Regions from separate parts of the Homo sapiens genome. Here region 1 is linked to region 2. The links are contacts of gene promoters, found by promoter capture Hi-C in blood cells and fetal thymus (Javierre and others, 2016). All regions are on one chromosome and are shown on one strand. Each heading gives the region's core, a stretch centred on a gene start or on the middle of the fragment in contact. The rest is flanking DNA. Distances are from core to core; before and after follow the strand shown.

Evidence for each region. The method cuts DNA at HindIII sites, captures the fragments that hold promoters and counts their contacts. A CHiCAGO score of 5 or more calls a contact.
Region 1: a contact is called between the fragment with the promoter of MEIOSIN here and the fragment with the promoter of FOSB in region 2, in 1 of 17 cell types (non-activated CD4 T cells). The highest score is 6.6, in non-activated CD4 T cells.

Annotation. Positions count from the first base shown.
Region 1 is chr19:45,732,158-45,736,088 of GRCh38, forward strand. MEIOSIN (meiosis initiator) reads left to right here and starts at 1,282. Exons shown (of 15, transcript NM_001310124.2): 1 at 1,282-1,509; 2 at 3,220-3,290. The coding sequence starts at 3,220. It also overlaps a transcript of FBXO46 not described here. The HindIII fragment of the contact is 2,985 bases long and covers 1-1,825 here.
Region 2 is chr19:45,466,029-45,470,083 of GRCh38, forward strand. It overlaps FOSB (FosB proto-oncogene, AP-1 transcription factor subunit), which reads left to right and starts at 1,968. Exons shown (of 4, transcript NM_006732.3): 1 at 1,968-2,684. The coding sequence starts at 2,559. RefSeq lists a silencer at 1,605-1,884 and enhancers at 2,069-2,970, 4,016-4,055. The HindIII fragment of the contact is 2,687 bases long and covers 375-3,061 here.

The sequences.
Region 1 (3,931 bases), core at 32-2,531, 270 kb after region 2:
GGGCAGAGATCTTTGTGTACCTTGTTCAAGCACCTAGAACAGCGTAAACATGTGTTCAGTAAATATTTATTGCATCGGAACTATATGCCAGACACCCTACAGACAACCCTGGTAGGAATTACAATCCCAAATTTATAAGGCAGAAAGAGATTAAGCCTCTTGTCGCTGGCAACACAGCCAAGAAAACGATTTGAACTGAAATGTATTGGATTTCAGGGTTTCTACTCTTGACTAGGTCGTTAGATCATCTCCCCTTAAGACGTATTTTCCAGGCTGGGTGCGGTGGCTCATGCTTATAATCTCAGCCGGGAGACTGGCTTTAGTCCAGGAGTTTAAGACCAAACTAGGCAGCAAAGTGAGACCCTCGTCTCTACCAAAAAAAAAAAAAAAAAAAGCCCAAATCTTTTATTCTTTTTCTTTCTTTTTTTTCCTTTTTTTTTTTTTTTTTTTTTTTGAGACAGAGTCTTGCTCTGTCGCCCAGGCTGGAGTGCAGTGGCGATACCAGCTCATTCAACCTCCACCTCCCAGGTTCAAATGATTCTCCTGCCTCAGCCTCTGGAGTAGTTGGGACTACAGGCGCGCCCCACCATGCCCGGCTAATTTTTGTATTTTTAGCCGAGACGGGGTTTCACCATTGTTGGCCAGGCTGGTCTGGAACTCCTGACCTCAAGTGATCCGCCCGCCTCGTCCTCCCAAGAAGGCCCAATTCAAATGGCCCTCCTCTTTGAATCCTTTCCCAACGTATTGTTCTCTGCATTAACCGAGTTCCCGTCTCACCGGATTCTCATGGTCTCGGAGGTTCTCACGGTCTTCTCGATTGTACTGGGAAGACAGTGGCTAAGTTCCCACCATCTAGCCTGGTGCTTGGCACACAGGAGGCCCTCATGAATCACGAACTGAAGGGAAAAGGTGGAAATGGGACATCATAGGGCCAGAAGGGACACAGGCGAGCTCGCTCTCTCTCTCTTCCTGAGAGTTGGCAGTTGAGGAAACCCAGCCTACTTGGGATGCAACGGCCCTGGACCACGCGGGTCGTGCAGGGGCGTGACCGCTTAAAAAGGCGGGTGGCTGAGCGGGCGCTGATTGGTCACCTAGCGGCTCACGCCGACCAAGGCCTTGTCAGAAGGCTCGAGGCCGAGCTCACGCTGTGCAAGACGACAGGGCCCTTCCCGAGGCGCGCGTGCGCACGGCCACTTGCACCCTGCCCTTTCAACCCCGTCGTCTCGTGCCCAGCACATCTTGGCTGGAACTGGTAGGGGCGTGGCCTGGCCTCAGGAACGCACTCTTGCTCTGCTCCTCACGCCTCGCGCAGGATCCTCGCGCCGGGAGGATTCGCACCCAACCCCAAGCCCGGTTGGGAACGTGGTGTCCGAGACCGTCTGGGATCCCCGCGCGCACGGCCGGCTTCCCGGGACCCGCGCGAGACGCTGTCTGATCGGGCTCCCTAGAGTGGGGCCCGGAGAAACCAGAACGGCGGGGGCAGCCTCACGCCATTTTGCACGCCCTGAGGCGGGTGCTGGAGGCCAAGGGGAATGGGGCGCGGGGCAGGGGGCCTCCCCCAGCACTAGCTGGGCTTAGGGGAACCCGGGATCCCCACAGGAGCTTCCCTCGGTGGGGGGCTCAGGGGAATAGAACATGCTCTGGGTGCAGGGCCACGGGCGACGGAGTTTGGGTTTGAAGCCGGGGGTCCAGGTTCGAGTTTGAGGAACGGAAGACTCTGTTTGTGTTGGGAATCCGGGCTCTCGAGTTCTGATCTGGGATCTCGGGATTTGTGTCTAGGGGTGACTAGTTCTGGAATCTGAAGAGCTTGAGTTTTGTGACTGGAAGCTTTCTCCTTGGAATCCAGAGATCCCAATTTGGGGATCTGGAAGTCTTAGTTCTGAGTTATGATGTAACATTTTGAGAGTCTGGAGCCTGATTTGGGGCAACTGAAGCCTCAGTATAGATTTAGGGCCTAAATCCCAATGTAGAGTATGAAGCTTTAGGATCTGGAGTCGCAGTTTGAGTCTTTAGAAGCACGTTTTAGGGCCTGGAGTGCCCACATTGAGTATGGGAGCTCCAGTTTTAGGGTCTGGGGTTTCAGAGTAGGACCCACATTCGAGATCTCAGTTTTAGGGTTGGGGCCACAATTTGAGGGACAGTTTGGACGTCTAAGAGGTCAATCTGGAGAAGTGAGATTTGTTTCATAGGGGCCTGGATTTCTTATCTTAGGATATAGGTTCATAGTGTTACAGCTTGCAGTCTGTAATCTTAGTATTAGGATCATATTTGAAGATCAGAAGTTGACAGTTTGAGGGTCTGGGGTATCTCAGTATTAGAATTTAGGGTTTGTAGGTTTGGGAGGGCTCCTTTTTTTTTGTTTTTGAGACAAGGTCTCACTTTGTCATCCAGGCTGGAGTGCAGTAGTGCGATTTTAGCTCACTGCAGCCTTGACCTCCTGGGCTCAAACCATCCCCCCACCTCAGGCTCCCAAGTAGCTGGGACTACAAGCATGTGCCACTATGCCCAGGTAATTTTTTTTTTTTTTTTGTAGAGGTGGAGTTTTGTCATATTGCCAGGCTGGTCTCAAACTCCTGAGATCAAGCAATCCTCCTGCCTTGGCCTCCCAAAGTGCTAGGATTACAGGCGTGAGCCACTGTACCTGGCTTTGGGAGGGCTCCAAAGTGAGGATTTAGGTCCTCATTTTGGGACTCTAAAGTATTAGTTTTAGTGCCTTTTTAGAGGTTTAGGGGTTTGTTTTTGTTTTTGTTTTTTGAGACACAGTCTCACTCTGTTGTCCAGGCTGGAGTGCAGTGGCTTAATCCTGGCTCAGTGCAACCTCCGCCTCCCAGGTTCAAGTGATTCTCCTGCCTCAGCCTCCCAAGTAGCTGGGATTACAGTCGTGCACCACCACGCCCGGCTAATTTTTGTATTTTTAGTAGAGATGGGGTTTCACCATGTTGGCCAGGCTGGTCTCAAACTCCTGACCTCGAGTGATTTGCCTGCCTCGGCCTCCCAGAATGCTGGGATTACAGGTGTGAGCTACCACTTCTGGCCAAGGTTTAGCTGTTTAATTTGGGTCTTTGGGCCCATAATTTGTTGGGGCTAGGGACTCTTATTTTGGGATCTCTGGGTGCTCAAAGGAGCATCATAGGGAAGATGAAGGGTGCCCATCAGGGTTCCTGCCCATCCTTCCTGCAATCCCAGAGGTCACTAATCATTCTTTTTCCCTCTTTGCAGATGTTTGGTTCCAGCAGATACTTGGGTTCCTCTGAACAGCCCAGAGCTAATTCACTGGGTCCCAGTGACAGGTAAGGGCTTGCCCCATCTCCCTTATAGCCCCAGCCACTCTCATTGAATAATAATAACAAAAACATTTGCTGAGCATTTACCGTTTGCTAGACTCTTTGCCAAACATTTTGTTTGTATGATAACTGTTAATCCATACAACAATCTCATGAGGAAGTTGTGTACAAAGATGCCTACCATTTTCCAGATGAGAGTACTCTGAGGTGATCGGCAAAGATCATTGCTTATTTATTTATTTATTTATTTTTGAGACAGGGTTTCACTCCTGTTGCCCAGGCTGGAGTGCAGTGTTGCGATCCCAGCTCACTGCAACCTCCGCCTCCTGAACTCAAGTGATTCTCCTGCCTCAGCCTCCCCAGTAGCTGGGACTACAGGCTCATGCCTCCATGCCTGGCTAATTTTTGTATTTTTTGTAAAGATAGGGTTTTGCCATTTTCCCCAGGCTAGTCTTCAACTCCTGGCTTCAAGTGATCTGCCTGTCTCAGCCTCCCAAAGTGCTGGGATTACAGGTGTAAGCCACCATGCCCAGCCCATTTCTTTTTTTATTTTTAGGGCAAAGATAACTTCTAAGGTCCTTGCAGCCTGTGACATTCTGAGTTTGTTTGTTTTCAGAGTTAGGGTATCACTCTGTTGCCCACGTTAG
Region 2 (4,055 bases), core at 718-3,217:
GGAGGTTGCGGTGAGCCGAGATCGTGCCATTGCACTCCAGCCTGGGCAACAAGAGCAAAACTCTGTCTCAAAAAACAAAACAGAACAAAACAAAAATTAGCCAGGTGTGGTGGCGCACACCTGTAATCCCAGCTACTCGGGAGGCTGAGGCAGGAGAATCACTTGAACCCAGGAGATGTAGGCTGCAGTGAGCCGAGATTGTGGCACTGCACTCCAGCCTGGGCAACAGAGTGAGACTCTGTCAAAAAAAAAAAAAAAAAACGTCAGATTCATGAACCCCATTTGCTAAGAAGATTTGCTCAGGTAGTCACCTGTACCCCTGTGAGCCAAGATTGCAACAGTACATGCTAAGAGCAGTAAGAAGGAGATTGTAAAGCTTAGAAAGACCTGACAGGCCAGGCGCTGTGGCTCACGCCTGTAATCTCGACACTTCGGGAGGCCGAGGCAGGCGGATCACCAGGTCAGGAGTTCAAGACCATCCTGACCAATATGGTGAAACCCCGTCTGTACTAAACATATAAAAATTAGCTTGACGTGGTGGCCCGCGCCTGTAGTCCAGCAACTCGAGAGGCTAAGGTGAGGCGGAGGTTGCAGTGAGCCGAGATCGCCACTGCACTCCAGCCTGGCGGCAGAGCAAGACTCCGTCTCAAAAAAAAAAAAAAAAAAAAAAAAAAAAAGACCTGACAAGTGAAAGCTACTAATATTGCCATTATCATTTAAAAAAACCCCAGACACAGGTTTTTCAGGGAGTTTCATCCAACCAGGCAGGTCTCAGAAATCAGAAAAGAAATGGAAAGGGTAGGAAATCTGGAGTTTGACAATTCTGAGTTTGAATTTCTTGTGATGGGATCTTGGGCAAGTCATTTAACCTCCCTGAGTATCATTTTTTTCTTTTATAAAATGAAGATTTTTCTCTCTTAACCTTCCAGAGCTGTTTTAAGGATTACAAATCTTCTACTGAAAGGCGTAGCACAGGAGCTGTGCTTGGCAAGTGCCAAATACAAGGCATTAATTATTATTATTAGAATTAATAATAATATCCCCTCCCTCTTACACATTCTTTGTCTCCGGGTGGATTAAAAGGTGGAAGGAGAGGCTACCAACACCATCAGAAGAGAGGCTTCTCTCTAAGTTTCATTTCCCATCTCCTCCAAATCCGCATCCCTCCCAAACGCCGGACCTGTAAGGCCAGCAGGGTCCAAGACACACATCCTTTGCCCAGCGGGGAAGATTAAAGCTAAAGCTCAGAGAGGGAAAACATTTCCTAAGCTCGCACAGCGAATCAGGACAGAAACCAGGACGAGCCTCGGAATCCCTCCATTACCTCCACTTTCACCTGAGCATCACAGCCCGCTCGGGACTCAGTTTCCCCACCTACGTGACCACACCACACTAATCAGGGTCTCCTTTTGGAGATCTGCTCTTCTTCTCGAATGGGGGCGCTGCACCATCGGTAGAACAGGGTAGGTGGGGGCGCCAGAGGTGAAGGGGACCTGCAGGCTGGGGTCTTCCCCGCCCGGGTCAGCGGGGTCCCTGCGGGGCTAGTCTAAGCGCCTATTATTACCAGCCCCCGGGGCGGCGTTGCACTGCGCAGGCGCGGGCGGGGCGCGGGCGCGCGCGCGAGCGAGCGAGGGATTCCCTCTGACGTCATTGCTAGGATACCAAACAAACACTCCGCCGCGCCGGCCGAGCTCCTTATATGGCTAATTGCGTCACAGGAACTCCGGGAAGGCGGGGCCGGGATCCCCTCCCGCCGAGTGGCCCGGAACGCAACCCCCGAGACCCCCAGGGCCCCGAGGGTCATGCAAGTGACCAGATCGAGTCTAGAACAGACCTCTTGCTGGACAGTGCGGGACTCGATTTGGCGGGGCCGGAGATTTGGGGAAGTTTGTCCAGCAAGGGGCGGGTGACGTAAGCAGGGGGGCGGGTCCCGGGCATATAAATACAGGCTGGCGGGTCTGTGCTTCATTCATAAGACTCAGAGCTACGGCCACGGCAGGGACACGCGGAACCAAGACTTGGAAACTTGATTGTTGTGGTTCTTCTTGGGGGTTATGAAATTTCATTAATCTTTTTTTTTCCGGGGAGAAAGTTTTTGGAAAGATTCTTCCAGATATTTCTTCATTTTCTTTTGGAGGACCGACTTACTTTTTTTGGTCTTCTTTATTACTCCCCTCCCCCCGTGGGACCCGCCGGACGCGTGGAGGAGACCGTAGCTGAAGCTGATTCTGTACAGCGGGACAGCGCTTTCTGCCCCTGGGGGAGCAACCCCTCCCTCGCCCCTGGGTCCTACGGAGCCTGCACTTTCAAGAGGTACAGCGGCATCCTGTGGGGGCCTGGGCACCGCAGGAAGACTGCACAGAAACTTTGCCATTGTTGGAACGGGACGTTGCTCCTTCCCCGAGCTTCCCCGGACAGCGTACTTTGAGGACTCGCTCAGCTCACCGGGGACTCCCACGGCTCACCCCGGACTTGCACCTTACTTCCCCAACCCGGCCATAGCCTTGGCTTCCCGGCGACCTCAGCGTGGTCACAGGGGCCCCCCTGTGCCCAGGGAAATGTTTCAGGCTTTCCCCGGAGACTACGACTCCGGCTCCCGGTGCAGCTCCTCACCCTCTGCCGAGTCTCAATATCTGTCTTCGGTGGACTCCTTCGGCAGTCCACCCACCGCCGCCGCCTCCCAGGTAAGTTTTTGATAGTAGGGGTGCTGCTTTGTAGGTTTTATTTTTTAAGTCAAGGGTGAAAAGAATAAACCCCAACCCCCACAAAAAGGCGCATCAGAACCCTAGATCTGAGATGGAAAAGGCTCACAGCGCACTTTGCAAACTGCAAAGAGTCGGGAGATGTTTGCAATTGGTTGCGTGCGTGGAGCGCAAGGAGGGAACGCGGCAGGGAGGGTAGGCTTTGGGGCGAGGTGGGGGTGGGGTGGGTAATGCGCTGCTCAATGCAACGTGTATGCGGTAGCGGGGCTGAGAACTTTGAGCCGGCCCCGGGACTGCCCCCTGCTCGGGTCCCAGACCTGAAGCTAGCGCAGTTAGGCAGGTGGGGGAAATCCCGGGGAAGCTTCCAGCAGTCTCTTTTCCTTTCCTCCTCCTTCGGAGCGCCCACTTCGGTGCCGGGTCGCCCTCCACCCATCGGGAAGAGGGGCCTCGAACCCTCAGCCGCGCTGCCTCCGCCTCCTGCGCGGAGACGTAACGGGGGACCCGTGCGTAACGGCTGACGCGCTGGAATCCTCCGTCTGACGCGGGGCACGCACGGCGCGCGGCGCCCCCTTCGTCCGCCCCGCCCCTGACGTCCCGGGAGCGTTCTATTTTGGAACGCCGGGGCCACGTTGCTAAGGGAGGGGGCAGCCCGGCGTTTCGATTGGCCGCCGGGGCGCACGCCTTGGCCAATCAGCTTTCCCTTCCTATTTGTAGGGTGCATTTTCCTTCCCCCCTCTCTGTCCCCGGAACCCGTGGTTCCTTGGCGGCTGGGTCTCTTTTCGGCGCCTCTAGAGGCAGAGGGAGGGGATCCCTGTCGTGACAAGAGCGCCTGTCTGCGACCCAATGGATCTGCGAGGCCCTTGCGGGGATCTAGTCCCTGGGCTCTCAGGAGAAGGGGGTGTCTGCTTGTGTGCTGGCGTTTCTTGGAGAGATACGGTGGCTGTCACCCTCTTCTCCAGGCACACACAGACACATTCCCACTCCCTCTGCTCCTCATGCCCGGTTCCTCCGGTGTGTCCCAAGACAGGACTAGAACCGCGAACCGAAGGGCAACCAGCCAGGTGGTCTCCAGGAGCTCCGCCCCCTCTGGGTTCCCAGGACTCTGATTGGTCGGCGAGCCAGCCCTTCCCTCACCACGCCCCCCGAGAGAGTAGTTAAGCCTTCAGAGCAGTTCCAGGAGTCCATTTACGGGAGGGGGGAGATGAGCGCTGCTGAGGCTTGGGGGCTCAGGTCCCGCACCATTCCCCCTCCGCGACAATCTGAGAGAGCTCCAGTGGTTACTTTTATCTACCTGTCCGTTCACCCTAAACTGTCACTCGTCAGTCTCACTCTGAGAAGAGACAGTAACTTGAA